Linked DNA regions of Homo sapiens: all the other regions are linked to region 2. The links are contacts of gene promoters, found by promoter capture Hi-C in human tissues and cell types (Jung and others, 2019). All regions are on one chromosome and are shown on one strand. Each heading gives the region's core, a stretch centred on a gene start or on the middle of the fragment in contact. The rest is flanking DNA. Distances are from core to core; before and after follow the strand shown. Region 1 overlaps CPLX1 (complexin 1). Region 2 holds the start of IDUA (alpha-L-iduronidase). Region 3 overlaps LOC124900647 (nascent polypeptide-associated complex subunit alpha, muscle-specific form-like). Region 4 overlaps CTBP1 (C-terminal binding protein 1). Region 5 holds the start of LOC124900163 (chloride intracellular channel protein 6-like).

Region 1 (6,236 bases), core at 1,215-3,714, 190 kb after region 2:
GTGCGAACATCAAAGAGTGCACTGTTGCACACCCAGATGGAGCAACCCTGCACGCCCAGGCTGTTGGGGGTAGCCTGGTGCTCCCGGGCACAACCCTGCACAGCACGTGACTGCCTGAATGGCACGGAAGTTGTAACACAGTGGTGAGTATTTGCGTACCTAAGCACATCTAAACATAGAAAAGGTACCACGTGGTACACCTTACAATGGCTGCGACATCATGTTGCTTTACATGGTCCATGACTATACTTAGTTGCCATCTGTTTCTCTTCTTTGGTGAAATGTCTTTTGTCCACTTTAAAAATCAGGTTGTTTGTGTTCCTGTTATTGAGTTGTAAGAGTTTTTTGTGTATTCTGAATATAAGACTTTTTTTTTTCTTTTGAGACAGAGTCTCGCTCTGTCACCCAGACTGGAGTGCAGTGGCCCGATCTCGGCTCACTGCAACCTCCACCTCCCAGGTTCAAGCAATTCTCCTGCCTCAGCCTCCCTAGTAGCTGGGACTGCAGGCACGTGCCACCACGCCTGCCTAATTTTTGCATTTTTTTTTTTTTTAGTAGAGATGGGGTTTCACCATGTTAGCCAGGCTATTCTCAATCTCCTGACCTCGTGATCTGCCCGCCTCGACTTCCCAAAGTGCTGGGATTACAGGTGTGAGCCACTGCGTCCGGCCAACCTTTTGTTTTTTTGAGACAGAGTCTTGCCTTGTCGCCCAGGCTAGAGTGCAGTGGCACGATCTTGGCTCACTGCAACCTCCACCTCCAGGGTTCAAATAATTCTCCTGCCTCAGCCTCTCAAGTAGCTGGGATTACGGGTGCCCGTCACCATGTCTGGCTAATATATATATATATATATACATATATATACACACACACACACATATATTTATATATACATACGTGTGTGTATGTATATACACATATATGTGTCTGTGTGTGTATATGTGTGTGTATATATATATATATATATATTTTTTTTTTTAGTAGAGACGGGGTTTCCCCATTTTGCCCAGGCTGGTCTCGAACTCCTGACCTCAAGTCATCTGCCCGCCTTGGCCTCCCAAAGTGCTGGGATTACGGTTGCCCGTCACCATGTCTGGCTAATATATATATATATACATATATATACACACACACACACATATATTTATATATACATACATGTGTGTGTATGTATATACACATATATGTGTCTGTGTGTGTATATGTGTGTGTATATATATATATATTTTTTAGTAGAGATGGGATTTCCCCATTTTGCCCAGGCTGGTCTCGAACTCCTGACCTCAATTCATCTGCCCGCCTTGGCCTCCCAAAGTGCTGGGATTACAGGCGTGAGCCACTGCGCCCGGCCTAAGATCTTTATCAGATGTGTGGTTTGCAAATATATTCTCTCAGCCTGTGGTGTACCTTTTCATTTTTTAAGACAGTGTCTTTTGAAGATGTTAAGAAAAACTCAAACTGTTTTTCCCTTTGCCCTCACTCCACAAGGATAATCAACACAGAAGATGTCTGTGACCAAATGTATGAAGGTTTTCCCCACCCACCAAGCAAGCAGTCAGTCCGGCAGTGGACAACAGCAGGGTGTTCTCCAATTCAATTCCATTCTGATGCTGTCTACCTGGAGACAGCCTCAGAAACCCCACGTTGAGGGCTCAGTCCCACAAGGCTGCCCCCTCCATCCCACCAGTCGCAAGTCCAGGACCCTAGAATGTCTGAACGACCGGCTTCGAGTTGGGGTTCATGCGACCCCTCTTGGGTTTAATTCCTAGAGCAACTCACAGAATTCAGGGAAACATATGCCTATGGTTTATTACAGAGGATCTTTTTATTTTTTATTTTTTGAGACGGAGCCTGCCTCTGTCGCTCAGGCTAAAGTACAATGGTGCAATCTCGGCTCACTGCAACCTCTGCCTCCTGGGTTCAAGCAATTCTTGTGCCTCAGCCTACTGAGTAGCTGGGATTACAGGCACATGCCACCATGCCTGGATAATTTTTGTATTTTTAGTAGAGACGGGGTTTCACCATGTTGACTGGGCTGGTCTCGAACTCCAGACCTCAGGTGATCCGCCCATCTCGGCCTCCCAAAGTGCTGGGATTACAGGTGTGAGCCACCATGCCCAGCCTACAGAGGATATTTTCAAGGATACACATAGCCAGATGAAGAGACACATGGCCAGGCCTGAAGGGTCCCAAGGATAGGAGCTTCCACCCTGTGGAGTTGGGGTGCCACCCTTCTGAGGAGCTTCCACCCCGTGGAGCTGGGGTGCTACCCTCCTGGCACGTGGATGAGTTCTTCGCCTTCCTTCCAGCCTCCATGTGCCCAGCTCTCTGGAAGCTCCTGAACCCCGCCTCTTGAGGAGACTCCATCGGATAGGCATGGTGGAAGAAGCATGGACGTCCCCGTAGAAATGCGACCGATGAAAAGGGTGTGATCTAAACCCAGCAAGGCCTGTCCAGATTCCTCTTGGCCTCTCTCTGTAGCGTTCCTTCCTCCAGGGCACGGGGCAGGGCCCCTTCTGAAATGAGGGCTTATGACTCACCAACAGGAAGTCAGGGGAAGATTTGAGTCCTGCCCTGCACAGGTGAAAAGAGGGCAGAAGGTCAGAGAGAGGGGTTCTGTTTCCTGATTCTAAAGGGCCCCAACATTATAACAAGGGCCATGGGAGTGAGAGGCAGGAGCCATAGATGAAAACATATATATATATCTCATAATATCGCAGAAGAGCAAAAATGTTTAATGTTGATGAAATTCAGTTTATCAATTTTTCTTTTTAAGATTTATGCTTTTGTCACTTATATAAGAAATCTTTGCTTAAGCCAAAGTCCCAGAAATTTTCTCTTCTGTTTTCTTCTAGAAGTTGTATAATTTCAGCTTTGACATTTAGATCTATGATTGATTGTGAGTTCATTTTTATATAAAGTGTCAGGTAAAGGAAAACATTTACATATGTGTTTATTTTGCACATGGATATTGAATTGAGCCAGTGCGCTTCTGAAAGCACTATCTGGCCGGGCACAGTGGCTCACGCCTGCAATCCCAGCACTTCGGGAGGCTGAGGCAGGCAAATCACTTGAGCCCAGGAGTTCGAGACCAACCTGGGCAACATAGTGAGACCTTGTCTCTACAAAAAATGTTTTTAAAAAATTAGCTGGGCATGGTGGCACATGGGAGGCTGAGGTGGGAGGATCAGTTGAGCCCAGGAAGTTGAGACTGCAGTGAGCTATGATTGAGCCTCTGCATTGCAGCCTGGGCAACGGAGCAAGACCCTGTCTAAGAAAAGAAAACAGAAGTAAGGACTATCCTCACCCTCATTGAATTCCCTCTGCAGCTCTGTCAAAAATCGATTGACAATATATGTATGGGTCTATTTCTGGACTTTCTATACTTTCCATTGATCTAGATGTCTGTTCTTTTTTTTTTTTTTTTTTTTGAGACGGAGTCTCACTGTCACCCAGGCTGGAGTTCAGTGGTGCCATCTCGGCTCACTGCAACCTCCACCTCTTGGGTTCAAGTGATTCTCCTGACTCAGCCTCTCAAGTAGCTGGGATTACAGGCACACGCCACCACACCCAGCTAATTTTTGCATTTTTAGTAGAAACGGGGTTTCACCATGTCCATCAGGCTTGTCTTGAACTCCTGAGCTCAGGTGATCCACCCACCTCGGCCTCCCAAAGTACTGGAATTACAGGCGTGAGCCACTGTGCCTGGCCTATATGTCTGTTCTTTTGTTTATACCATAGTGCCTTGATTATAGTAAGTCTTTTTGTTTTTTTGAGACGGAGTCTCGCTCTGTTGCCCAGGCTGGAGTCCAGTGGCGCGATCTTGGCTCACTGCAAGCTCCGCCTCCCGGGTTCACACCATTCTGCCTCAGCCTCCCGAGTAGCTGGGACTACAGGCGCCCGCCACCATGCCCGGCTACTTTTTTGTATTTTTAGTAGAGACGGGGTCTCATTGTGTTAGCCAGGATGGTCTCGATCTCCTGACCTCGTGATCCGCCGGTCTTGGCCTCCCAAAGTGCTGGGATTACAGGCGTGAGCCACCGCGCCCGGCCTACAGTAAGTCTTAAAGTCAGGTTGTGGCCAGGCTCAGTGGCTCACGCTTGTAATCCCAGCACTTTGGGAGGCCGAGGCGGGTGGATCAGGAGGTCAAGAGTTCGAGAACAGCCTGACCAACACGGTGAAACCCCGTCTCTATTAAAAATACAAATATTAGTTAGGCATGGTGGCAGACGCCTGTAATCCTGGCTACTTGGGAGGCTGAGGCAGGAGAATAACTTGAACCCGTGAGGTGGAGGTTGCAGTGAGCTGAGATCCTGCCACTGCACTCTAGCTTGGGCGACAGAGCTAGACTATTTGCTGAGCACCTGCTGTGTGGCAGGCTCTGCTCTAGGTGCCAGGGCTGCAGCTCCGAGCTGACTGCCTGCTCCCATGGGGCTTTCTGTTAGCAGACTGGCAATCAGAAGCAAACAAACAACAGATGGCACCATTTCAGGTAATGGACAACTACAAAGGGAAATACAGCTGGTGACGGGCCAGAGAGTGGCAAGGACTGTGTTTTTCTTTGCCTACATTTATTTGGGATTCATGTTTAGTTCTACAATCAATAAGAATGTGTCTGTGTGTTGTGCAGGGGTCCAGTTTTATTCTTTCCCATTAAGTATCCTGTCCCATCTGGGGATACTGCATTCTTTCTCCAGGGTCCTGAGCCTCCACCTCTGTCTCTGGTCCCACGTGGGGGTCCTGTGTCTGTGGGGGTCTGGGGATGGGCTCCCCACTCTGGGCCCGTTGTCTGTCTTCCTCCCACTGCACCATCATCATTCTGTCTTGGTATCTGGTGGACCTCACTCTCCTCTTTTTCCTTCAGGTGTCTGTCCTGGCAAATGGGCCTTTTGCAGGTCTGTATGCAACACTCAGCTTGTCAGATTTCACAGAATTTTCTTCTTAATTCTTCGGAGTTTGGGGAGGATGGACGTCTTTACGTGTGGAGTTACCCTGGCCAGAAAAATAACAAGTGTCTTTCTTTATTTAGATATTGTTTAATTTTTCATTCAATTCTATAATTTTCCCCGTAGTTTTATTTCAAGTTAAAAAGCATTTTTCCATTCTTAAAAATTAACATTGGGCTGGGTGCAGTGGCTCATGCCTGTAATCCCAGCACTTTAGGAGGCCGAGGCAGGCGGATCAGGCAGTCAGGAGTTCGAGACCACCCTGGCCAATACGGTGAAACCCGTCTCTACTGAAAATACAAAAATTAGCCAGGCGTGGTGGCGCGTGCCTGTAGTCCCAGGTACTCAGGAGGCGGAGGCAAGGGAATTGCGTGAACCCGGGAGGCGGATCTGGAAAAGTGGTGAGGCCCACATGAAGTCTTCAGTGGGGTGGTCGCTGGTACCATGTCCAGGTCTCAGCTTTGACGAACACTCGGTGGCTGCAATGTCAGCGTCTAGGGAGCCCTCTTATACAATCTTTGTGACTCTTCCGTAAATCTACAATTATTTCAAAATGAAGCTTTAAAAATCAACTTTAATGGATGTAGTATTTACATATACATTATGTATAACGTATACTAAATTGAATGCAGCCATTGTCATTGTACTTACCGTGTAAGGGAACCCTGGGCAGGGTTTTGACCTCAGGGGCGGCTGCTCTGTATAAGCAGATCCCCCCAGAAACTGCCTGGGCGTCTCGGGAGCGTGGGTGCCACTCCAGCAAAGGTCTGGGAGGTGGGTTCCCGGGAAGAGCCTCAGGGCTGGAAACGCGCGGCCCTGACCCCACCCTCCCCGATGTCTGCAGAGGAAACGTCTCTGCTTCTGCCCCTTCTGCTACCGGGAGGTGGGGTGGGCGGTGGAGTCTCAGCAGGGCCAGAGGGCAGGGAGGCGCCGCGATCTGCACCCCCCCCCCACCCCCTCTCCACCCGGTTTGGGGCGAGCTCCCGGGTGGGAAGGGCCCCTCCCGCTGGGACTGAACTCCCTCCCCAGAGGGTTTATCCGCCTGTGCCGCTGTGGGGGGCGTTGCCAGCCCCGTCATTGCCGCGGGGTCGTGCCCGGTGCGCCCCCCCACCGCCTCCACCTCTCACGGGGGGAAGCTGAGGCTCAGAGAACGAGGTAGGGGTGGGGTCGGCCCCTGTACGTCGAGGCCAGTAGCGGACCCCAGCCAGACTGCGGGACCCCCAGCCTCGGATCCGACCCCCCTGCAATCAGAGTCGGGGTGTCCCAGCCTCAGGCACCACGTGGGACCGC
Region 2 (5,814 bases), core at 202-2,701:
TGCAGCCTCCAAGGTGCCAAGAGGACTCCCTATGCCCAGGCCTGCCCGGTGCCCACCCTGCTGGTAGGAGCCAGCGGCTCTGGCCAAGTGCACGAGGGTCTCTGTGTTTCCAGAAGGCCCCACACACCCAAGTGCCCCTCACACCTCGTGCCTCCCCCTCACAGGGTGGCCACCTGCACCAGCGTCAGGGCCCAGGGTGCTGTGACCGATGAGACCTCAGCTCAGCCCTCAGGTGCAGTGGCCCTACCCAGCCTGGCCAGCAGACACACACAGGGATGCTCACGGGTGCACCAGGAGCCAGGTGCGGCGCAGCCAACCCTGAGCCTGCAGGGAGACCTGCAGGAAGCCCACCGTGCCCCATGCAGGGGCTCCCTCCAGCACACAGCCCTCACCCCAGCACAGCCAGCAAGGACACGCTCTCCCCAACAGGGTGCTTCGGCGGGAGGTGGGGGAACAAGGGGTCTTCCGAGCAGCCCCCAGCCCTCCCCTCCCATCTGTGCCTCTGTAAGGGGCTCTGGGACGCCCAGACCCTGCCCGCCGCCCACCTGGTGGTGACAAGCTCCAGCAGCCAGTGGGTCCGGACCTGCTTGATGCCGCGGTGAGGGACGGCGCCCACATAGGCGAGGTTGAGCTGCTGGTCCCAGCTGAGGACGTACTGGTCAGCCTGGCTGTGTGGCAGCGGGGGGCTGGGGACAACAAAGGGGCGGCTCAGTCCCGAGCCTCAGCATGGCTGGCAGCGCGGCTGACACACACGTTCAAGCCCAGGACTGCCCGGGCGCAGGATCCAGGCGCTGCCCGTGCGTTCAGTGACTAATAAAATGACCCTTAGGGCCAGGAATGTGGGGAGGTCCCATCTTCATGGGGAACGGCAGCAGCAGTAAGACGAGGGGCCAACGCCAGCCCTGGCCCTGGCCCTGCCAGGAAGGCGGGTACCTCAGCTCTAGGTGGAAGGAATGGGACAGGCAGGCCAGGTCCCGCTGCAGGGCCGTCCACTCCCAGGGGAGACTCCTGGTTTACCTCAAAGAGCAGGATCCCGGGCATCGGCCTGGGCTGCAGGGGGCGGCCCAGGCTCACGCCCCGGCGCCCACTCAGGTGGAGGACCCACCCACAAACACGGCGGGGGGCGGGCCCGGGAGAGCCAGGGCCCCAGAGGAGGGAGCTCCGGTCTCTGAAGCTCTCACAGTGCGCAGTCAGGGGGCGCCCGAGCTCTCCCCGTGCGGCCAGGGGGTCCCGGAGGCCGCGGAGCGCTCACCAGAAGCCTGTGCTCCTCCAGAAGCGCCGCAGGGGCCACAGCGCGCGGGCCGCGTCCACATGCACCAGGTGCGGGGCCTCGGCCGGGGCCACCGGGGGCGCGGCCAGGAGCGAGGCCAGGAGCGCCAGCAGCGCGGCGCGGGGGCGCAGGGGACGCATGGCCACGCGTGCTCGGGGACTGCGGGGCTTCGGGCTGCACTGCCGGTTCCGCCTCCGGGTCGGAGTCTGGGCGCGCACCCCATGTGACCGCCGCCGCGGGGCGGGGCCTTGGTGAGGGGGCGATGGCCGGGTGGGAGGGGTTGGGTGGCCTCGGGGAGCCTCGGGGAGCCGGGAGCACGGCAGGGCTTGGAGCCCCGCTTCCTTGCGGGCCTCAGGGGCTGCTCTGAGGACCGATGACTCGGAAAGCGCTCAGAAGAACGCTTCGCCCGTTGGTGCTATGTGAGTTGAGCCATTACTGTCTTGTTTTTCTCTGTTTTTGTGTGTTTTTGAGACAGAGTCTTGCTTTGTCGCCCAGGCTGAGGTGCAGTGGCGCGATCTCAGCTCACTGCAACCTCCATCTCCGGGGCTTCAGCGATTTTCTCACCCCAGCCTCCTGAGTAAAGCGTGCGCTTTAGCAGGAAGGAGAATTACCCCAGAAGAGCACACTGGGCCCTCCTTACACTTGGCTTCAGATCCATGGATTCAACCAAGCAGACTGAAAATATTGTTTTAAAGCCAAAGCAATACGAAATAATACATATTTTAAAACAATACAGTATAACAGCTATTTACAGAGCATTTACATTGTTTTAGGGACTATAAGTAATCTTGATTTAAACTACACAGTAGGATGTGCGTAGGTAATGTGCAAATACTGTGCCATTTTATATCAAGTACTTGAGCACCTGCAAATTTTGGTATCTGGGAGGGTCCTGGAACCAATACCCCGAGGATACCATGGGACAACTGTAGTACATGTGTAGTCCATGTATGCATGTGTGAATCCAAGCAAACATTGTATAAAAATAATAATGGAAAGAACAGGCTTGGTGCGGTGGCTCACACCTGCAATCCCAGCACTTTGGAATTGCAGGCCAACACGGGAGGATCACTTGAGGCCTGGAGTTTGAAATCGGCCTGGGAGATGTACCAAGACCCCATCTGTACAAAAAAAAAATTTAGCCAGATGCGATGGTATATGCCTGTGAGGCCCAGCTACCCACGAAATTGAGGTGGGAGATTGCTTGAGCTTAGGAGTTCAAGGCTGAGACGGGCCATGATCACACCACTACATTCCAGCCTGGTTGACAAAATGAGACCCCATCTCTAAAAAAAGAAAAGAAAAAAAGAACAGTCTACTAACAAAACGAAAATACTGGACAATAATCCTCTCTAAGTTGGGAGAAGGATAATTAGAGTTACAGTGTTCTGGGTCTTTTTATTTTGGGGAGAGGGGTTAAAATATTGCTTAACATTAGGTCTTCTTATGTTGAAATTGCATTAAAAGTGATTAGCCATTTAAAAGTGAAATAGTGTGTATATATTCCAAATTAGCAAGGAGGAAAAACATAATACAAAAAAATTCATTAAGAAACTAAAAAGTAAGAAAGGGAGGGAAAGGCGAGAGAAACCATGCAAGTACAGAACTGTCTCCAGGAACAGCGGGGTAAGACCCTCAGTCCAACGACCCCAGAGAAAACAACTAAAATGATGGATAACTCGCTTTAAAAACAATTCCTCAAAGCGTCAGAGAACTGAGAAAAACAGTAAGAAACCACCAGTCCCACACCGTGGTGCAGGACACAGCAATGGAAACTGAATTGTTTCAGACCAGCCGCCTCCTGAGAGCAACCATCAGAACTGGAGAGCGCTGAACGGAACCGTCCAGGGCACTGGGAGCTCTGAGGAGCCTCTGAGGCCTCGGGGCTCTGCAGGGACAAGCCGGGAGGGGGCGGGGCCCGCTTTGGGGCGGCGACTCCACACCCCTGCAGCGTATCCCAGCCACACAAGACATGGCGACACGCTGCTGCGTTCGTTCCTCACACTGTGGCCACAGGACAGAAGTCGAGGCTCAGGCGGGGGGCCTGGTAAAGACTTTGGGTTTTTCTTGGGACCCCAAAGTTCTATCCCCTAAAAGCAAAGGTAAACCAGCAACAGAATTGTCTTTGTGGGGACTGAAGCCAGCCTTAAATCACCTCAAGCCCTGAGAGAATTAAGGTGAGCCGCTCACCGGGACACCTGTGGACAGAAAAGTACACCTTCCCTGGAGGAAGGTAAAACAAAACAAAAACAGACAGAAGTCCTCACTGCACGGTGCTGGAATGGATCCGGGTCAGGAAAAATTATTACAAAGTGCATGATGGGGACATTCACAATTTGGAATATGCCTTGTACATTGTGCAACAAAATTCTACCAATGATAAACTCCAGAATTTTTTTTGTTTTTGTTTTTTGTTTTTTTAAACGAAGTCTCACTCTGTTGTCCAGGCTGGAGTGCAGTGGTGCGATCTCAGCTCATTGCAACCTCTGCCTCAGCCTCCTGAGTAGCTGGGATTACAGGCATGAGCCACCACGCCCAGCCAATTTTTGTATTTTCAGTAGAGACAGCGTTTTACCATCCTGGCCAGGCTGGTCTCGACCTCCTGACCTCGAATGATCCACCTGTCTCGGCCTCCCAAAGTGCTGGGATTATAGGCATGAGCCACCGCGCTGGGTCAAACTCCAGAATTATTAAACGACTCAATGATTGCATCACGGTTGTGAATGGAGATTTTTTGTTCATTTGTGATCCATGCTGAAGGGTTTAGAGGTGAAGAATCAATAGATTTGTAACCAAAGTTGCTCTGGAAATTAAAGCAAAACAATAAATTTAGATTACATACAGAGACTGAGATAAAAGCAAAGGTAGCAAAATATTAACAGTTGGTGAACCTGGGTGAAAACTATATACTGTTATTGCAACTTTTCTGTGAGTTTGAAATTTTTCAAAATGAAAACATTGAAAAAAATATTAAAACCTCATGAAACTTAGTAAAAATTTATTGAATGATACACTTGAACTTGCTTCATTTTATTGTATGTAAATCATATCTCAGTAAAGCTGATAACGAATTGGTTTAACAGCAAATTAAATCCAACTAGGCTGAGCAAGGTGGCTCATGCCTGTAATCCCAGCACTTTGGGAGGCTGAGGCGGGCAGATCACCTGAGGTCAGGAGTTCGAGACCAGCCTGGCCAACATGGTGAAACCCTGTCTCTACCAAAAATACAAAAATTAGCCGGGCGTGGTGGCATGCGTCTGTAATCCCAGCTACTCAGGAGGCTGAGGCAGGAGAATTGCTTTAACCTGGGAGGCAGAGGCTGCAGTGAACCAAGATCACGTCACTGCACTCCAGCCTGGGCAACAGAGTGAGACCCTGTTTCAAAAAGAAAAGACAAAATTAAATGGTGTTCTTCAAGTAGAAAGAATGATGTCCCAAATCCCAGCTCAGAGGTGCAGAGGAAGAAGTGAAGAGTGCGGGGGGAAGGGAAAACCTCCCCTGCCTTTCTGAAGTTTCACTAAAAGGGTACACAGATTTCTTGGATTGTAGTTTTATGTGACACAGCAGCTTTCAGAGCAAAGACCTAAAGGCGCAGGGGAAACCACATTTTTATACTCAGGTTCTGTGAATCTGGAAATAGGATTGGACGAAAGGTTAAGACCTGACAGGCTAACAGACTCCTGGGGGAGCCCAGCGAGGCCCATCTGCTTCGGTTCCTGGAGGCCTCTCTCTGCAGCTCTCCCTCCTGCTGGGTGGGGGCACAACGCCCCGGAATAGGGGTCTGACCACATACAGTCAAACAAGGCAGGCCAGAGAATTCCTTTATGGCCAGTTTTTACACAGAAAGACAGAGAAAAGTTATTAGAGTCATACTTTTAGGTTTATGGCTGGCTTTGGGGAAAAGGGGCTTAGGTTTCTACGACCTGCCTGGGACAATGAGGGGCCAGAGACAGGAGGCAGGAGAAGGCCTGGCTTCCAAGGCCTTCACTCTGGGTGACATTTTCTGAACCCCAACAAAAGCAACAGAAACGGTATATTGTGTATAAACCTAATGAATCGTAACCGCATAAAACAATCATGTTACAGGGTTTCACATATTTCTGGGGAATTAGGATTTACAGCAAGAGTGGCACAGGTGCTGTATGGGAAAAGTGAAGTGAGAGGGGAGGAGAGCCTCCTGAAGACGCCCTCCGTCCTGTCCAGGCCCGCGCCTGTCGCCTCACATGGCGAGCGCCTGCAGGCATGGTTCCGTGAAGCATCCAAGACGTAGAGATGATTCTAGTTATCCGAGTGGGCCCTGAGTGTAATCCCAGTGTTCCTATACAGGGGAGACGGAGGGGGGTTTGACACAGAGGAGGCTGTAACGGCCTCAGGAGAGATTGAAAGATTGTTCTAAAATGTGTCCCCAGGGTTTATTTCAGTGAGGTGTGGGGAGACACACGGACCCGGCCACGACAGGCCAGGAGGAAGGCCTTGCTGTGTGTAGAGACGTGTGCGATTCCGATTTAGATTTTGGGGCTCTGTGAGGCAAGAGATTCACACAG
Region 3 (5,730 bases), core at 68-2,567, 140 kb before region 2:
GCACATATTATAGTTACATAAATCTATACAAGAGTGATGCATGTTAAGTGTTTAGCACAGTGCCTGGCGCATAATATGGGTCCAACAAATGTTACCTGGTTTTCATTCCCACTGTACCTTTCAAGGGCACATGAGGGAAGTTAAGTCATATGATAGCTAACACATACTAATGGGAGATAGCCAGAGACTCCTTCAGATCCAACCTTCAGCAGAAACCTCTGGAGACAATGAAACGAAAGATTTGACATGACTACACTGATATTTTAGCAAGGAATTCTGCTGGAAGTGTATGGGATCAAGTTACAGGAGAAAGAAGTTAAAGCAGGGAGAACTACTGGGGAGGTTTCGGAAAAGGTCCAAGAGTTCCATCTCTTAGTGGCAGCTCACATGGAGTTTACATTCTAGGTGGAAACCTTTCATAGGCTTATTTTCGGCAGTTCTCACAACTGAGATCTGAGAGGGATCTATATTACCCCTATTTTTCTGAATAGGAAATGGAGGCTTGGAGTGGTGAAATAATTTGTCAAGTTACCTAGTAAACGAGAGTGAGAAATGAAGAACTCAAGTCTTCCTCTATACTCCAGAGTCCTCTACTCTGTTAGATACCTAATCACCAAGCTATAGCTGTTCAGACTAAGAGTGTTTTACGATTTAGGTAAACTGAGAAAGATAAATTCATTTAATTTAACAGTAACATCTAATAAACATTATTACTGTTTCTTACATGTTGTAATGTCTTACATTTTTGAAACAGGGACTTTCAAGATACAGCAATGGGACATAGGCAGACATACGTTCCTTGAATCTGCTCCTGGTTTGGGAATGTTTGTGACTATTACAACTTACAATGATGAGGTAAAACATTCTTTTATACTTTGTTACTAAAATTTTTCATTTGCCAGAAATTCAGGCATCATGTAGCCCAGTTTTAAAATCTCTACAGAAGCACTCACTAACCAGAATTAACAATTTTTAATGCATATAGCACTGAATGATAGCATGACATAAAAACATAGAAAGTGCCTGCCCTCAATGAGCCTATAGTTTAGTTGAGAAGCAGAGACAGGCTTCATAATACAAAAAGCTTTTAAAAAATGAAATGAGGATTCCCAGATTTGTCATCTTCAGGTTTGCCGATCTTGCTAGGCAAAAGGGACCTTAAGGCCAAAGCATCCTGTGGTTTTACACCAACCAGGCCCCATCTACTTTGCTGGTGCTGCAGCCCCACCCAAGCACAAGGGTCAGATAAGCCAACTCCTCCCTCCTCCCATTTTGGCATAGGCGTTCTCTAATAATGCAGCAGCCTCTGGGACTGTCTGGTCTTACATACCTCTTACTCACCAGGAGTTAGCAGAGGAGTACAAAAGTCACCAGGAAATGTGGAAAGAATATGGATTTTGGAGTCAGAATCAAACTCAAGCATGGATTGTCACATATAAGCTAAAACCTTGGACGGGTTATTTGACTGCTTTGATGCTGTTTTCTCATATATACAATGGATATAACAGAGATATCCATCCCCCACCATGTAAGCTCAAGACAATGAATTTCTCAGCCCACTAACTCAAATCTAGTCCTGGAGCTGTGCTCATGGGGTAGCAGAATGGTGGTGGACCAAAGACTTGTAGAATAGAATAGGCCTCTTTCTGGCTGGCAAGAAAAGGGTGCTTGAAGTAGGCAGGACAGGACTCCCATTCTCATGAAACTGGATAACTGGTTGGCCCAAGCTCAGGAAGACACTGTGACACCCCCACTTATGTGGAGACAGAGAGCTGTGCTGAAGACTCCAATCCAGTTGGATTTTTGGACACTTGATTTTCACCTGTTCAATAGTTATCTCTCGGCACATTTGGCACCTCACTGACAATAATTCCACTGGGACTGTTTTCCTAGCTCCAGCCACTTGTCAAGACAGCTACCCTCTCCTCCCTACACACCCACATCTATGCTTCTAGCCCATACTTTCTGTTCCTTGTTATATCAAACCCCAATTCTATACTTTCCCAATAATCCTTAATGACCATCTGAAAATGTCTCCAAAGCACATTAAACCCAGAGCCAAATTTTAGTTGGGCCAAAAACTATCACATTAAAACCCATTCACTGTTTTTTTTAAAACACATAGAAGACTCATTCTTTGAAAATCGAAATTGCCTGAAACAACATCTGAACTCTCTATTCTGTTCCATTGATCTATTTGTCTATTCTTTCACCAATATCACACTGTCTTGATTACTGTAGCTTCACAGTAAATCTTAAGGTTGGTTAGTCTCAGTCCTCTTTTATTCTTCTCCCTCAATATTGTGTTGGCTATTGTGGGTCTTCTGTTTCTCCATATAAATATTAGAATCAGCTTGTCAATATTCACAAAATAGTTTGCTAGAATTGTATTGGGATTCTGTTGAATCTATAGAACAAGTTGGGAAGAACTGAGATTTTGACAATAATAAGTCTTCTTATCTATGAACATGGACTTCTCTCCATTTCTTTCACCAGTTTTGTTTTCCTCATATAGGTCTTGCACATATTGTTAGGTTTATAAATAAGTAATTTGAGGGAGCGTGCTAATGTAAATGATACTGTGCTTTTTATTTCACATTCCACTTGTTCATTGTTAGTATATAGGAAAGTGATTCACTTTCTTATATTCATCTTGTATCCTGCAACCTTACTATAATCACTTACTAGTTCTGGCAGTTTGTCAATTCTTTTGGGTTTATACATAAACAGTCATGTCACCTGTGAACAAAGACAGCTTATTTCTTCCTTCCCAAACTCTTTATTTCCTTCTACTGCATTAGCTAGGACTTCCAGTCCACCAAGAAAAGGTTTCTAGTTTCTGACCAGTAAGTGTATTAGCTATAGGTTTTTTGTAGATGTTCTTCATCAAATTAAGTTCCCCTGTATTCCTAGTTTGATGCATTTTTATCATAAATGGGTGTTGGCTGTTGTTAAATGTTTTTTCTGCATCTATTGATATGATGGTATGATTTTTCCTTCTTTCACCTATTGATGTGATGAATTACACTAATTGATTTCTGATGTTAAACCAGTCTTGCATATCTGTAATAAGACCCATTTGGTTGTGGTATATAATTCTTTTTACATATTGTTGGATTTTCATTTGCTAATATTTTGTTAAGGGTTTTTGCATCTATCTTCATGAGATATAATGATCAGTAGTTTTCTTATAATGTCTTTGTCTGGTTTTGGTATTAGGGTAATGCTGGCCTCATAAAATGAATCAGGAAGTATTCCTTCTGTGTCTATCTTCTGGAAGAGATTGTAGAGAACTGGCACAATTTCTTCCTTAAATGTTTGTTAGAATTCACCAGTGAACCCATCTGGGCCTGGTGCTTTCTGCTTTGGAAAGTTTCTATTGATTCAACCTCTTACTAGATATAGGCCTATTCAGACTGCCTACTTCTTGTATTTTATTAGATTGCGTATTTCAAGGAATTGGTCAGTTTCACCTAGGTTATCAAATTTGTGGGCATGGACTTGTTCACAGTATTCCTTTATTATTCTTTTAATGTCCATGGGATTTGTAATGCCCCTTCTTCTGTTTCTAATATTTGTAGTTTGTGTCATCTTCATTTTTTTCTTAGCCTGGCTAGAAGCTTTTAAATCTTTTCTAAGAATCAGCTTTTGGTTTTGTTGATTTTTTTCTATTTCTTGTTTTTAATTGATTTCTGCTATAGTTTTTATTATTTTTCTTCTGCTGCTTACTTTGCATTTAATTTTCTCTTCTTTTTCTCGTTTCCTAAGGTGGAAGCTTAGATTATTAATTTTAGATCTCGTTTTTTAATACAGTCATCCCTTGGTATTTGTGGGGCATTGGTTCCAAGACTCTCCAAAGATACAAAATTCTGAAGATGCTCAAGTCCCTTATATGAAATGGTGTAGTTTGCAGGTAACTAGTACACATCCTCCCATTAATTTAAATCACCTCTAGATTACTTATATCTAATACAATGTAAATGCTGCATCGTTGTTATGCTGTAGTTTTTCACTTGTATTATTTCTGTCACATATATTTTTTTCAAATATTTTCAATCCATGGCTGGTTTAATCCATGGATGTGAAACCTGGCATTATAGACAGCCAACTGTATATGGATTCAATGCTTTCAATTTCCCTCTAGTCACTGCTTTTATTGCATCCCACAAATTTTGGTAAGTTGTAGTTTCATTTTGTCTTGAGATTTCTTCTTTGACCCATGTGTTAATTAGAAGTGTGTTGTTTAATCTCCAAGTATTTTGCGATTTTCCAGCTATCTCTCTGTTACTGATTTCCAGTTTAATTCCATTGAGGCCTGAAAACATACAGTGTATGATTTCTATTATTTTAAATTCTTTAAGGTGTGATATATGGCCCAGAATGTGGTCTATCTTGACGAATGTTCCATGTGAACTTGAGAAAAACGTGTCCTCTGCTATCACTGGATAAAGTAATCATAGGTGTCAATTATCTCCAGTCAACTGATGGTGCCACTGAGTTCAACGATGTCCTTACTAATTTTGGCCTGCAGGATCTGTCCATTTCTGACAGAAGGGGCTGAAAACTCCAACTATAATAAAGTGTTCATCTATTTTTTCCTTGCAGTTCTATCAGGCTTTACTTCACATATTTTCATGCTCTATTGTCAGGTGCATACATGTTAAGGATTGTTGTCTCCTTAGAGAATTCACCCTCCTATCATTATGTATTGCTCCATTATGTAATTATCCCTGATAATTTCCATTGCTTCTGAAGTCTACTTTGCCTGAAATTAATACAGCTACTCCAGCCTTCTTTTGATTAAGGTTACCATGATGTATCTTTCCCTATCCCTTCACTTTTAATCTATGTGTCTTTACATTTCAAATGATTTTCTTATAGACAACATATAATTGGGTCTCATTTTTTTGATCCACTCTATTTTTTAACTGGTGTATTTAGACCATTGACATTTTTTTTCCATGTGTCTAAGGCATGAACCAGGTATAGGTACAGATCAAAAGCCAAGCTGGGATGAACAAAGGGTTGCTTTGTCCCTGGCTAATATGGGCACCACCAACTAGGTGCCACTCTACCCAGGCCAAGGACACAGACCATTAACATTTAAAGTGATGATTTATATAGCTGGATTAGTATCTGCCATATTTGTTACCATTTTCTATTCATTGCCCTCATTATTTTTTTCTTCTCCTCTTTTTCATGCCTTTTGTGGTTTTAATTGAGCATTTTCTGTGATTCCGTGCTCTCTGTTAGCATATGAAGTTTCCCTAGAGTTTGCCATATACATTCACAACTAGTCCAAGTCGAATTTCAAATAACACTATACACTACCACTTCACAGGAAGTGCCTTTTTTTTTTTTTTGAGACGGAGTCTTACTCTGTCACCCAGGCTGCCGTGAACTCAGCTCACTATAACCTCTGCCTCCCAGGTTCAAGCAATTCTCCCTGCCTCAGCCTTCTGAGTAGCTGGAATTACAGGCACCCACCACCACGCCTGGCTAATTATTTTTTGCATTTGTTAGTAGAGACAGGGTTTCACCATGCTGGCCAGGCTGGTCTTGAACTCCTGACCTCAGGTGATCCACCCGCCTCAGCCTCTCAAAGTGCTGGGATTATAGGTGTGAGCCACCATGCCCAGCCGCAAGTGCCTTTTATTAACAAAATATTCCTAATTCTTCCCTGCTGCCCCTGATTTTATCATGGCTTTCATTAATTTCACTTACAGGTAA
Region 4 (6,033 bases), core at 3,534-6,033, 250 kb before region 2:
GGCCAACAGGAGGGAGGATCCGGCAAGCAGATGGTGATGTGCATCCAGAGACAGGGCGTTGACATGTGGCCAGGAGGCTCTGGGGTCATCGGGCCGCCACCGTGCAGCCCCCCGGGACTTGATGCCTCCAGAGAACCTGGGGGCTGCTGCCCCTCACCTCACCCCCATTTACTTTAAAATCAGTTTTTGTTTTAGAGCAGTCTTAGATTTACAGGAAAATAGGAAGCACAAGCTTCCATGTGCTCTACACTCACTTCCCTCGTGGGTCCCTTGAGTGCTTTCTTACAACATGAGGTTAAGCGTCTGCAGGGTGAGAAGCTGGAGACTGTCCTCGTGTCGCTGGGCTGAGAGCCGTGTGCGGCTGTGAGTTTTTGATGAGGAAAAGCAGTGTGGGTCCTGGATTTGGACAGCACAGGCCCCTCTGGGAGCCGTGTGCCTTCACCTCGGAGTGTGTGGGCAAGGTACAGAGCTGGAGCCCTTGACCCTGACCGGCCAGCCAGGAAGGCCGTAGGAGGCCAGCTCCCTGGCGTGAGGTGCGCAGGGCCTCTGGCATTGCCCTAGGTGAGGGCTCCAGGACTCGGACACTGGCTCTCAGTGGGGCAGGTGTGGCCCGGCAGGGGGCGCTTTGTGGGTGCACAGTGGCCCCAGGGTGGTGCAGATGGTGGGCAGACCTACCCCAGGGCTGTTTCTGAGACAGAGGTCCCTGGAGGAGAACCAGGTGCTGGGCCTCAGGTGTCTGTCCTGAACTGGAGCAGCCTTGGAACAAGGAACCACAGGAAGTCCCTGTGGCATGGGGTGCAGCCCCTCAGGTCTGGCAGGGCTAGCCCAGGGAGTGCAGGGCCCCAGGAGCCCTGCCACAGGTTCCTCAGCTCGGGAGCTCACGGCCTCCTCACTGCAGGGTCCTTTCAGGAGGGCCAGGGTGGCCTTCACACATCTGCTTCTTCCTCAGAGACACAGGTGTGGGCACGTACTGGCCAGTATAGATAAGCATTGAGCAGCATTGATGGGTATCGATGATCCTCCAGGAGCAGCGGCTGGTGCCATGCTGCTGTGGGCAGTATTGAGTATTGGCCGGTCTTGACGAGCAGCAGCCGGTACTGGGCCACCGTGGGTAGCATTGATGAGTATTGACTGGTATCAATGAGTATCAGCCGGTATCAATGAGTATTGGCCCGTATCAATGAGTTTGGCCAGTATTGATGAGTATTGGCTGGCATTGATGAGTATCGGTTGGCGTTGATGAGTATCGGCTGGCATTGATGAGTATCGGCTGGCGTTGATGAGTATCGGCTGGCATTGATGAGTTTGGCTGGGCGTGGGTGGCGCGGTGCCTTGCCCCCTGGCCAGGCTGGCTCGTGGGTGAAATGTGACATTTAGGCGGTTTTCTCCTGTCCTTTTAGTTTGTTTTTATGTGGTATCCGGGTACCATGGGGAGATCTGGCATTCAGGGCAGGAGGCTGCAGCGCAGGTCATGGGGGCTCAGGCGCAGGTGATGGGGATCCCGCTCCACAGTGTTGCTCTTGGGCCCTCCGTCAGGGAGTCCCACACAGCACCTGCCATGAGGAGTGGTGTTGGGGACCCTGGATGGGAGGTGCGTGCGTGGGGCTGCACCCCAGCCCCTGTGATGGTGTCTCTGGAAGCTGGAGATGGTCGGCATGTATGCTTGAATCCTGCAGAGGGAGTTGAGGGTTGGAGATTTGTCTGCGAGGCCTCTGCGCAGGGGCGGCCTCACAGCACACTACCAGGGTCTTAGGCTTGGCTGAGTGGCCCCTTCTGGCCTGGCAGGCAGTCGTCTCAGCCCACGCCTGCCATGCTGCTGGGCTGGTGGTGGCCGGCTCCTGTCCTGGTCAGCCTGATGTCAGCTGCACGTTGGGGTCAGCCTCGGTGCTGTGTCTTCATGCCAGAGCAGGGGCCAGGTGTGGGCAGCTCAGTGACACCCTCCCGAGGGCTGGGCGATCGTGTGCACTCTCAAGCCTCTACTGGAAGGCTTGGCCCTCTCAGGGGCCCCCTGCCCCTGTGCATTCAGCCACTGGGGTTCGTGCCCTCAGCTTCCCGCCAGGCCCTGGCCGTAGCGGTCAGGAAGAGCTGAGCAGTTTTTTTGGGAGAATTGAGGGAGCGTCGCCAGGATGCACTGAGGGTCGGAGGTGGAGCCGGCGCGGCTCAGTGCAGGCAGTGCCAGGCTGGATGCTGGAAAGCCAGCAGCACCTCTCCCGGTGGCTCCTGGGAAGTTCCACGTCCTTGCCTGGTCACAGAGGCCCGGGAATCAGTGACATGAGATAGAAGCTTCCAGAACAGGAGGCAGAGCCTTTCCGCAGTTTCCCTGCCCACAGCACACACCCTGTGCCCTCCGTCCCCTGGTTCTTGGACACTGGGGACATCTGGATGCGGCTAGAGCCTGTGGGGGTGGCCGCAGCCCTGGGGGACTGTTCCCAGGAGTAGGCCTCGGGGCCACAGGGGCGCGGCCTCGGGCCTGGCACTGCAACCTCAGGGTGAGCGCCCTTCGTGTGTGCGGCAGGAGCCGGGGCCCCTGGCTGTCAGCAGGCCCCCGAGTCCAGGTAGGTCCCAGACAGCAGTCCCGGGTGTGGCAGATGCAGTGAGGTCCACTTCTGAGGCGTTCCCTGGAGTCTGTGAGTTCTGGTCGGACCTTCGATGGCATTTTAATGTGTCTCTTGTGTTTGATTTTTAGTAAGACTTTGACCCCGACGCAGGCTTCAGTGATTGCCGCGGATCAGAAGCCTGAGCACTTTGGCTCGAGACAATTAAGGACGTGGGATGAGGCTCCGAGACAGGACGCGGTTCTGCCTGGGGATCCTGAAGATAAAAAGCTTTGAAAAGTCGAATTCATGGTCGTGGAAGCTGAGCCCATATTAAGAGATGTCAGGTTGGTAGGGGTTCCTGGCGTCGGCGGCAGAGTGAAGCCGGCCGGTCTCTTTGCGACCGTGTGGAGGAGGCACTGCCTCGGATCAAGTCGAGGGACCTGGGCTGCATGGGCGTCGGGCCGGACTGCTGCCACCTGACCCCCGGTGTGCTCTGGGCGAGGTCAGGTGCCCCTCGAGGGAGGGCTTCCTGCACACCTGGTGGCAGAGCACAGCTGTGGTCAGGCCTGTCCGTGGCATCTGCTGTCTGTTTCTGTCGGAAAGTGTCTGAGAGGCACGGAGGGCCTCCATGTGGAGGCCGCCAGCACGAGGGTGGAGCCCCACACGGAACCCTGGAAATCTCAGGTGTCCACCCGGCTGGCCCAGGAGCAGGGCCGTGGCCCCTGTGGAGCTGTTCCTTGTGGTTGGTCTGCGCTCTCTGGCCCGGAAGTGCGTGCAGTCGGAAACAGCCTTGGGCTTGGGGGATGCTGCAAAGCCTGCTTCAGCACAGGCCGTGTGACTGTGAAGCCTCCTGGGTGTGTCCCCAAGCCTGCAAGGGTGGGCTGTCCGGGGAACCCTGGCACGGTGGTCAGGGGCAGCTCATGGGTGATGTGAGGAGGCACCTTGGGTGCCTGAGCCTGATGGGGCTTGGTGTCTCCACCTGCTCCCCCCTCCCCACCGTTCAGCTGAGGGACCCGGTTCCCACTCACCCAGCACCCGGGAGTCCCCCACGCGGTTCCGACGAGGGACCCGGTTCCCACTCACCCAGCACCCGGGAGTCCCCCACGCGGTTCCGACGAGGGACCCGGTTCCCACTCACCCAGCACCCGGGAGTCCCCCACGCGGTTCCGACGAGGGACCCGGTTCCCACTCACCCAGCACCCGGGAGTCCCCCACGCGGTTCCGACGAGGGACCCGGTTCCCACTCACCCAGCACCCGGGAGTCCCCCACGCGGTTCCGACGAGGGACCCGGTTCCCACTCACCCAGCACCCGGGAGTCCCCCACGCGGTTCCGACGAGGGACCCGGTTCCCACTCACCCAGCACCCGGGAGTCCCCCCAGGCGGTTCCGACGAGGGACCCGGTCCCACTCACCCAGCACCCGGGAGTGCCCCACACGGTTCCGACGAGGGACCCGGTTCCCACTCACCCAGCACCCGGGAGTCCCCCACGCGGTTCTGACGAGGGACCCGGTTCCCACTCACCCAGCACCCAGGAGTCCCCCCAGGCGGTTCTGACGCAGCCGAGCGGTCTGCAGTGATCCCGTGTGTCCATGCCTTCCTCATCAGAAGTGAAATCCAAGGATACTGAGAGCGGATGTCTATCCACTCACTCAGAAACAGCAACATAAACCTTTCTGCTCATGAGAAGTCATCACCACCACACACAGCGGGGAGGGAGGCCACGTGCAGAGGGAGGCCATGTACAGTGTCACTGGGCGGCCTGTCTATGGTGCTCGTGGGCAGCTCCCGTCCAGAGGGAATGAAGGAACAGGCGAACCAGGACGCGGTTTTGACCGTGCAGACCTCACGTTTGGGATCTGGTTTCCTATCTTGAAGGAAAGTGGGTGGAATGGCCAGTGGCTCCTCCGAGGACGCCAGGGCGCGAGGACCTCACGGGAGGGGCATGGGCCCAGCCGTACTGGGAGCCCTCGGCTTTGGGGTGGTCAGTGGAGACCCATGCCCCGTCCCCTGCAGGCGTGTGCTGCAGGCCCACTGCACCCCTGGGCTGTCCACCAGAGCATTTCTTTTCTCTGCCATGGGTTCCAGGAGGCACTTCCCTGCTTCCTGGATACTGGCAGCTCGGTGGCCTCTGCTCACCTGCAGGCGGATGGGGCAGCGGATGGGGCGGGAGACTGGGCCGAGCGTGCTTGTGGCCGCGGCCACTGGAGAGCCTGCTGGGTCACTCTGCTCCTTGGTTCTGTCGTGCGCCTCCCCTCCTGCTGGCCGAACGGTCCTGGGTACTGCTTGGTCTCCTGTGGCCGGTCTTTGGAGGAGGAGGGGAGGGACCGGCTGGGCCCTGGCCCCAGCTCCGCCTCTGCCCAGCTGCCGTGGGGCTGACAGTGGCCCCACCTGGTGCTCCCTGCCTGGCACGGGGCGGTCGGGCGGTGCCTGGAAGCTGCCATGCTTCTGTGACGCCTCAGAGCCCTTATTTCTCCAGTTGGCCCCGATGAGGCTTAGTTGCGTCATACGCGAAAGGAATGGGTGTTAATGAGCTTTAATCATCTGGTTCTGGGAAGGTCAGGGGCACAGAGTGGACTTTAACAGGTTTTAACCCTTTTCTTCCTTTGTTCTGTTTCTTTTCTCTTCACATCTATAATTGGAAGTAATGCCAGGCAGAGGGTTGGGGGCGTCCTACGTGAAACACTGGTGACCCCATCAGGGATTCCGGGCAGCCACGCGGTAGCCCAGGCAGGAAAGGGACAACCATGTTCCCAAAGTCCCGTGCTGTCATCTTGTGTCCTCCAGTGTCCTGGGTCCCTCCTGTCCCCCTGCCTCATGGAGCTGCCCTGGGGTCTCGGACGGTCTGGGAGGGTCTCGGGGGGTCTCAGAGGGTCTTGGAGGGCCTAGGAGGGTCGGGAGGTGTCTCGGTGGGTCTGGAAATGTCTTGGGGAGTCTCAGAGGGTCTGGGAGGTTCTCAGAGGGTCTGGAGATTTCTTGGGGGGTCTCGGAGGGTCTTGGAGGGTGTGAGAGGGTCTCAGAGGGTCTGGGAGGATCTCGGAGGGGCCTTGGAGGGTCTCGGAGGGGACTTGGAGGGTCTCGGAGGTCCTGTGCCCAAGGGAGATGGTAGTGGGTGTCCACAGTCTGTGTCCACTTGAGTCAGCGAGCTGAGGCACACACGAGTTGTCTTTCACGTGGATTTTTAATTTACTTTTTACAAATATCACAACATATAGACCAGAAAACCCCCGGCGGTCGGCCCTCGTTGGCCCGTGCACAGTGGGTGGCGTGGAGTGGGTTGTAGCCACGGGGCCGCAGTGGTGCAAGGCTGAGCACTTGCCTCTGTCTTGCAGGCGTCCGACCTCCGATCATGAACGGGCCCCTGCACCCGCGGCCCCTGGTGGCATTGCTGGATGGCCGGGACTGCACAGTGGAGATGCCCATCCTGAAGGACGTGGCCACTGTGGCCTTCTGCGACGCGCAGTCCACGCAGGAGATCCATGAGAAGGTACCACCAC
Region 5 (5,620 bases), core at 2,810-5,309, 200 kb after region 2:
GCGCGCCCCCAGGACCCCCCCAGTCCGCCCCGTGCTCCTCTGCCCGCGGGTGGCTGGAGCCCCATCGCCTGGGACGCCCCTTTCTCTTGCTGTTTACCGCCCACCCAGCAGCGCCCGAGGCCAGGGCCGCCGAAGGGCAGCCCCGCGACCACCCCTGTGCGCGCGTTCGCGGCGGTGGGCGCCTGTCGGGCCCGCACTCAGGAGCACAGCCATAGCAGACGGGGGGCTGCGGGCGGGGCGAGGGCGGCGGGGCCTGGGTCCCCCTCCTGCACGCGGACTCCGGGGTTCGGATCGCTCCGCCGTGAGTATTTGCGTCCGCACGCGGCCGCTCTCCGCCCCCCGGCCTGGCCCCCTCGCGCCCCTGTCCATCCGTCTCTGTCCGCGTCCTTTCCTCTCCTCTCTGGAAGGTTTTGCTTCTTACGAACGCCACGGCCGTGTTCACTTCTAAACTAAAGGAAACAAAGCAATAGGTTTGGGGGACGCCCAGCCCCCACCCCCGTCACCCCGCTCTTCCCAAGTCCTCGCCCCCCGCCCGGCCTCCTAGCCTCTCCGCCCACGCGGCTGCTGCTTCTCCCTGGGGAGGACCCCTGCCCTCGGCCATTGAACACTGCACCCTCCACAGGAGCCGCAGAGGCCCGAGGCACCGGACGCTGGAGACCCTGCGCCCCTGCCCAGCACCTCCTCCGTGGGCAGCTCCTCGGGTGGGGCCTGCGGGGTTCCCTGCGCGCAGCTGGCGCGTGTGTGGCCTAATCCACCTGGTGGCCCTGCGGGGCGGCATCCGAGCCCCTGTTTCTCCTCCATTCATGTTTAATTTGCATCACAATTTGTTGAATCTCAGGTAAATGAGGTCTTTGCATTTAATGAGTTTTATCTTGACAGGCGCCGCCTCGCCCCCGGGCCCTTTCGTCCACATCAAAAATGCATCAAGTCTCCACGTGTTTCGGGCCAGGGCGTGGCTTGGCATTGACCTTCATGACCTTACATAGCTTTAGAGAAGCCATAACGTTAGACTGCAATACTAACGACCGACGCCCCTCCGGGCAGAGACCACCGCGCCCCTCTGCGCCCCAGCGACGCGGCCCGCGGGGACGTCGCTGTCCGTCCTGCTCGCCCTGTGCCCTCTCACTGACTTCTCCCGGGTCGTGTCTTTTAAAAACTCCTGTTTTCACACCTTACAAAGCCAGCTCTGAGCAGACAGGGCGTCCTCTCGTAGAACCTGCGCACCCCGTTCCCAGCGCATGGCGCCCCGGGCCGCGAGCTTAGCTTAGACCGTGGTGTCCTCTGTCCGTCTGTCCTGCGCCTGCGCCTCCTCCTGCATGTCGGGGCCCCTGCGTGTGTTCTCTCCGGATGGAATCACAGCCAATAAACACCAGTGATTTCACACCGTGTGGCCATTCCTTCCAGAGGTCCATTTCGCCAGCCGGAGGACCGGGGCTTTCCCCCGCGCATGTTCTCTCCACGGCGGCTGCAGGGCCTCCCACCATTCTCACTCAGCTCCATCCAGTCAGACCCATTTTCCCTAGGCCGTCCAGCCAGCGCAACCTCCATCTAAACACAAACCTGCGCCTTCAGGGTCTCCCGCCCCCCAGGGTGGTTCTTCCACCCGCAAAGCATCTGCCCTCTGCTCTCCCTCCCACCTAGGACCCCCGACCACAGGCCTGTCCCTCTCCTCAGCTCCACCGGGCCCAGGGCCCCAGGTCACCCTGTGCTGCCCTTACCTCGGCCCACCCAGGAATTCCTGCCCCCCAGCACCCCCGTGGGACTGTCCCTCCTCCTGAGTCCTGGACCCGGATCCCTGCAGGGAAATGTCTGCCAACCTGGGCTGAGGCCAGAAGAGGTTCCTGACCCCAACCCAGAGAACAGCCCCTCTGCCTGGTTGCTGGCGGTCCCGCCCACACTCAATCCGCTGGATGCGCAGCCCACGCCTAGCTGCTGCCTGCCACTTGCTTCCCCAGAAAGTCCTTGTTTGACCTCCAAGTTTGGAAGCTGTTAAAAGATGATTCTGGCCAGGTGCGGTGGTTCAGGCCAGGTGCGGTGGTTCAGGCCGGGCGCGGTGGCTCACGCCTGTCATCCCAGCACTTTGGGAGGACGAGGTGAGCGGATCACGAGGTCAGGAGATGGAGACTATTCTGGCTAACAAGGTGAAACCCCATTAATACTAAAACTACAAAAAAAAAAAAAAAAAAGCTGGGTGAGGTGGCAAGCAACTGTAGTCCTAGCTACTCGGGAGGCTGAGGCAGGAGAATCGCCTTGAACCTGGGAGTCAGAGGTTGCAGTGAGCCGAGATGACACCACTGCACTCCAGCCTGGGCGACAGAGCGAGACTCCCTCTCAAAAAAAAAAAAAGAAAAAAGAAAAGAAAAGATGGTCCCGTGACACTTGTTACAGCTGAGTGAGGAAGGCTTTATTCAGGACCAGCACTACAGGTACAGGGACCATGCAACAGGGCTTGCCATGGGTGCCAAGGAGCAGGGTGGGCTCAGTGGATGGAAAATGACTGAGGAACATCAGGGGTTGGGGGATTCTGATGAAACCCATCTAACTGGATTCTAGCTGGAGACAGGCAGGGCAATCAGACAGACCCATAGGGTGGTGAAGCATGAGGACCCCAATCAGATCTCCAGGATGAAGGTTTGTTGCTAAACTGACTTAGCCAGATTCTTTGCTAAAACTGCATTTTACAAGGAAGTGGGCCAATGGGCCTACCAGAAGATTCAGGAAGTTAACTAAAGTTTGACCACACAAAAAATCTTTGTCAGGAGCCCTCTCTAGGGAGCAGCATGTCTGGGTCTCCTGTAACCTTCCTGATGCTGCTGGCTGGGAATGCCCCAGGGAGCTGCCCAGTCCCAGGGCAGGAGGGCCCCATGTGCCCTGACCCCAGGCCGGGCCCTCCTGGATGCCAGGTGGGAGCTGGGAGGGAACGTGCTCTCCTCCAAGCCCAGGGAAGGGTGTATCCAGCTCCTCCTCCTGCTGCCTCTGGGGAAGTGTGCACCCCAGGCACCACCAAATTGCCCAGGGTGATCTCTCCTCTGCCAGCTGGCCCCCCTTCCTCCTGGAACAGAAACTCAGTGTCTTTGCACCCACCCCTGTGTCCGTGGCTGCTGCCAGCTGCCCCTCAACAGGGCACCCCAACATCCAGCCACTGCTCAGCCTCCATCCTCCCCCAGCCTCCCATTTCCCATCCACAGCCTGGTCTGGACCCCCTTGCAAGCCTAAGCAGCGACTTGGACGTGCCAGGTCACGACCCAGGCAGCTTTCCCTTGGAGTCTTTTTTTTTTGAGACAGAGTCTCTCTCTGTCCCCCAGGATGGAGTGCAGTGGTGCGATCTCGGCTCACTGCAAGCTCCGCTCCCAAGTTCACACCATTCTCCTGCCTCAGCCTCCCGAGTAGCTGGGACTACAGGCACCCGCCACCACGCCCGGCTAATTTTTTGTATTTTTAGTAGAGACGGGGTTTCACCGTGTTAGCCAGGATGGTCTGGATCTCCTGACCTGGTGATCCGCCCGCCTCGGCCTTCCGAAGTGCTGGGATTTCAGGCGTGAGCCACCGCACCCGGCTCCCTTGGAGTCTAGACGAGCCCTTCCTACAGCAATGAATGCTGGGTCAGACCTGAGCTTCTCCGGGATCCAGCTCTCATCTCAGGTGACGGGGTCTGAGGCCTCCTGGGAATGGCACTCCTCCCCAGATGTTTACTGAGCCCCTGTGATATGCGCTGCTCTGTTCTAGGGGCTGGGAATACTAGTCCCTCCCTCCTGGAACTGGTTTTCCTAGTGATGGAGGACAGATGATAAACATGGAAGTGGCGGTGTTTGCCCTGGAGGAAAATCAAGCAGGACAGGGAGCAGAGAGCAATGGTTAGGGTTACTATTTCATGAGTGGTCAGGGGGCCTCTCTGTCAGAGTGACGTGCACAGACCCGGAGGGAGGCGCGTGTCCCGTGGGAGAGCATTCTGGGCAGAGAACAGCCATTCGAGAGCCAGGAGGCAGCGCTGCCTGGGTGCCACCAGCGTGGCCCTGGCCCCATGCACTGGCTGGGCACCACCCTGCCCCCGGAGTCTCCTCCTTCTGAACGTTTGACTGTATCTTGAACACAGCGGGGCCGGCTTTCAAGCTCCAGACACGGCCTCCTCCCCAGGCCAGGAAGCCCTGTCAGGCAGCAGATCCGGCCCCCTCAGCAGATCGGCCCCTCCAGAAGACCCGCCCCTCACAGCAGATCCGGCCTTCCCAGCAGACCCGCCCCCCGAGTAGATCCGCCCCTCCAGGATATCCATCTCCCCAGCAGATCCGTCCTCTCCAGCAGAACCGCCCCCAGCGGAGCCGCTCGGGCGGGGCCTCCGGGCCTGGGGAAGGGAGCGGGGACCGGGCCGTGGAAGGACCGCGCCCGCCCCTGGCCAGCCTGAGCCAATCAGCGCATGCTAGGTGGGCCGACATGATTGGCTCCTAGAGGCTCACGTGTGGAGGCCTGACCAATCAGAGCCCGAGAGACGCCATTGCAAGCCTCTGCAGAGGCGCTGGAGCTGGGTCAGTCCGCCGCTCACCCCGCGGCCGCACCTTCCCGCCTTCTCAGGTAACTAAGTGCGGGTCTCGGGCCTGGCAGAAGCTTCTTCGGCCCCGTGCCCTCGCCTGGCCCCGCCCCGTCGGTTGTGTGCTTGTCTCGTCCTGCCCCCAGGCCCTGCCGGTCCCCACCGTTAGGCCGGCGTCCCTGCCCGGCCCCGCTGCGGGCTGGCGCCAGCTCAGGAGGACGCCCCGAAGCCGAGGCCTCGGAAGCAGGTTTTTCCCAGACCTTCTCCTGTCCCGCGTTCCCCCTAGGCCGGCCGTAGGGACCAGACCCCACCCTAAGCCCATAGCCGGCCTTCGCGCTCCGGGTGACCCTGGCTGGCCCTGTTTGTCTGTGGGTCCTGGGATGCGCCACTCCCGGCAGGAAGGGGCGCCGCCGAGGCCCGGTCTCAGCCTGGAACCCCGCTCCTGCCGTCGGGGCGCTTTCTGCGGCTGCCCACACACGACCCCAGGCAAGGGGTGGGGGCGCGGGACCCTCCATGACATGGCGGCGGGGCGCTCTCACTTCTTTGAAACCAGCGTAAACTGGACCCGCCCCACCTCCCATACCTTGGGGGAGCCCCGGGAAAGGCTGTGGCCTGGGGGTCTGCAGGGCGTTGGCAGTGGAGGTGGGGAGAGACCCCAGCCCTTTCCTGTCCCCCCCACCAGCCTTGCCTTCCTCGCCGTGAGCCGGGGACAGTGGAGGGGAGTCAGGGAGGGCCCACCAGATGGACTTTCTTGTGACTCATCCTATAAAGCCCCTCGGGCTTAGCCACCCTCCCCAGGACCCGTGTGGTCTCCCGGACTGTGCTGGAAGCTTAGAGCCAGAATGACTTTTCCACCCTCGGGCTGGCTGGCTCAGTGGGCAGCAGGGACAGGGGGCTGTGAAGAGAAAACTCACTCGCCAGGGTCAGGGGCCGCTTGCTCACTGAGGAAAGCAGAGGGGTTCCTGCCGCTTGCCTCAGGAACAAAGCTAGTTGGTGAGGCACTGCCTTGCAGTTGTAGGAGAGGAATAATGGCCCCCGTGGGTGCTTGGTTGGAACGATTAAAGGAGAATAACAGTTTAGCACGATTATTTCACACAG

The links. The method cuts DNA at HindIII sites, captures the fragments that hold promoters and counts their contacts. A contact is called where the count stands out against the background at its distance.
Region 1: a contact is called between a fragment that was not itself captured here and the fragment with the promoter of IDUA in region 2, in 1 of the 25 tissues and cell types used here (spleen).
Region 3: a fragment that was not itself captured here is called in contact with the fragment with the promoter of IDUA in region 2 in 1 of the 25 tissues and cell types used here (dorsolateral prefrontal cortex).
Region 4: a fragment that was not itself captured here is called in contact with the fragment with the promoter of IDUA in region 2 in 1 of the 25 tissues and cell types used here (dorsolateral prefrontal cortex).
Region 5: a fragment that was not itself captured here is called in contact with the fragment with the promoter of IDUA in region 2 in 3 of the 25 tissues and cell types used here (dorsolateral prefrontal cortex, lymphoblastoid cells and spleen).

What each region holds. Positions count from the first base shown.
Region 1 is chr4:795,468-801,703 of GRCh38, reverse strand. All of the region lies in intron 2 of CPLX1 (complexin 1), which reads left to right. It overlaps LOC105374339 (a long non-coding RNA gene), which reads right to left. Exons shown (of 4, transcript XR_925032.4): 3 at 5,598-6,236; 4 at 4,555-5,483. Among named protein-coding and RNA genes, the nearest start is that of PCGF3-AS1, 17 kb to the right of the region's middle. RefSeq lists enhancers at 1,734-2,233, 2,269-2,468. The HindIII fragment of the contact is 7,050 bases long and covers 1-5,989 here.
Region 2 is chr4:982,681-988,494 of GRCh38, reverse strand. It overlaps IDUA (alpha-L-iduronidase), which reads right to left and starts at 1,451. Exons shown (of 14, transcript NM_000203.5): 1 at 1,253-1,451; 2 at 546-686. The coding sequence starts at 1,410. SLC26A1 (solute carrier family 26 member 1) reads left to right here. Exons shown (of 3, transcript NM_022042.4): 3 at 1-838. RefSeq lists silencers at 985-1,162, 945-1,594 and enhancers at 1,805-1,864, 3,040-3,089. The HindIII fragment of the contact is 27,782 bases long and covers 1-4,938 here.
Region 3 is chr4:1,118,243-1,123,972 of GRCh38, reverse strand. The region is part of intron 1 of LOC124900647 (nascent polypeptide-associated complex subunit alpha, muscle-specific form-like); the gene reads right to left. The region is part of intron 1 of LOC105374344 (a long non-coding RNA gene); the gene reads right to left. It overlaps LOC124900184 (small nucleolar RNA SNORA48), which reads right to left and starts at 5,089; the gene lies at 4,960-5,089. It also overlaps the pseudogene TMED11P. The HindIII fragment of the contact is 4,762 bases long and covers 1-3,698 here.
Region 4 is chr4:1,238,173-1,244,205 of GRCh38, reverse strand. CTBP1 (C-terminal binding protein 1) reads left to right here. Exons shown (of 10, transcript NM_001012614.2): 2 at 2,687-2,881; 3 at 5,869-6,023. The coding sequence starts at 2,875. Among named protein-coding and RNA genes, the nearest start is that of CTBP1, 7.9 kb to the left of the region's middle. RefSeq lists an enhancer at 3,730-4,230. The HindIII fragment of the contact is 7,049 bases long and covers 1,259-6,033 here.
Region 5 is chr4:780,718-786,337 of GRCh38, reverse strand. It overlaps LOC124900163 (chloride intracellular channel protein 6-like), which reads left to right and starts at 4,490. Exons shown (of 2, transcript XM_047416474.1): 1 at 4,490-4,566. It overlaps PCGF3-AS1 (PCGF3 antisense RNA 1), which reads left to right and starts at 4,489. Exons shown (of 3, transcript NR_171661.1): 1 at 4,489-4,566. CPLX1 (complexin 1) reads left to right here. Exons shown (of 4, transcript NM_006651.4): 4 at 1-1,381. RefSeq lists enhancers at 356-1,227, 3,222-3,939, 3,940-4,656, 4,657-5,374 and silencers at 4,201-4,550, 4,651-4,730. The HindIII fragment of the contact is 6,790 bases long and covers 665-5,620 here.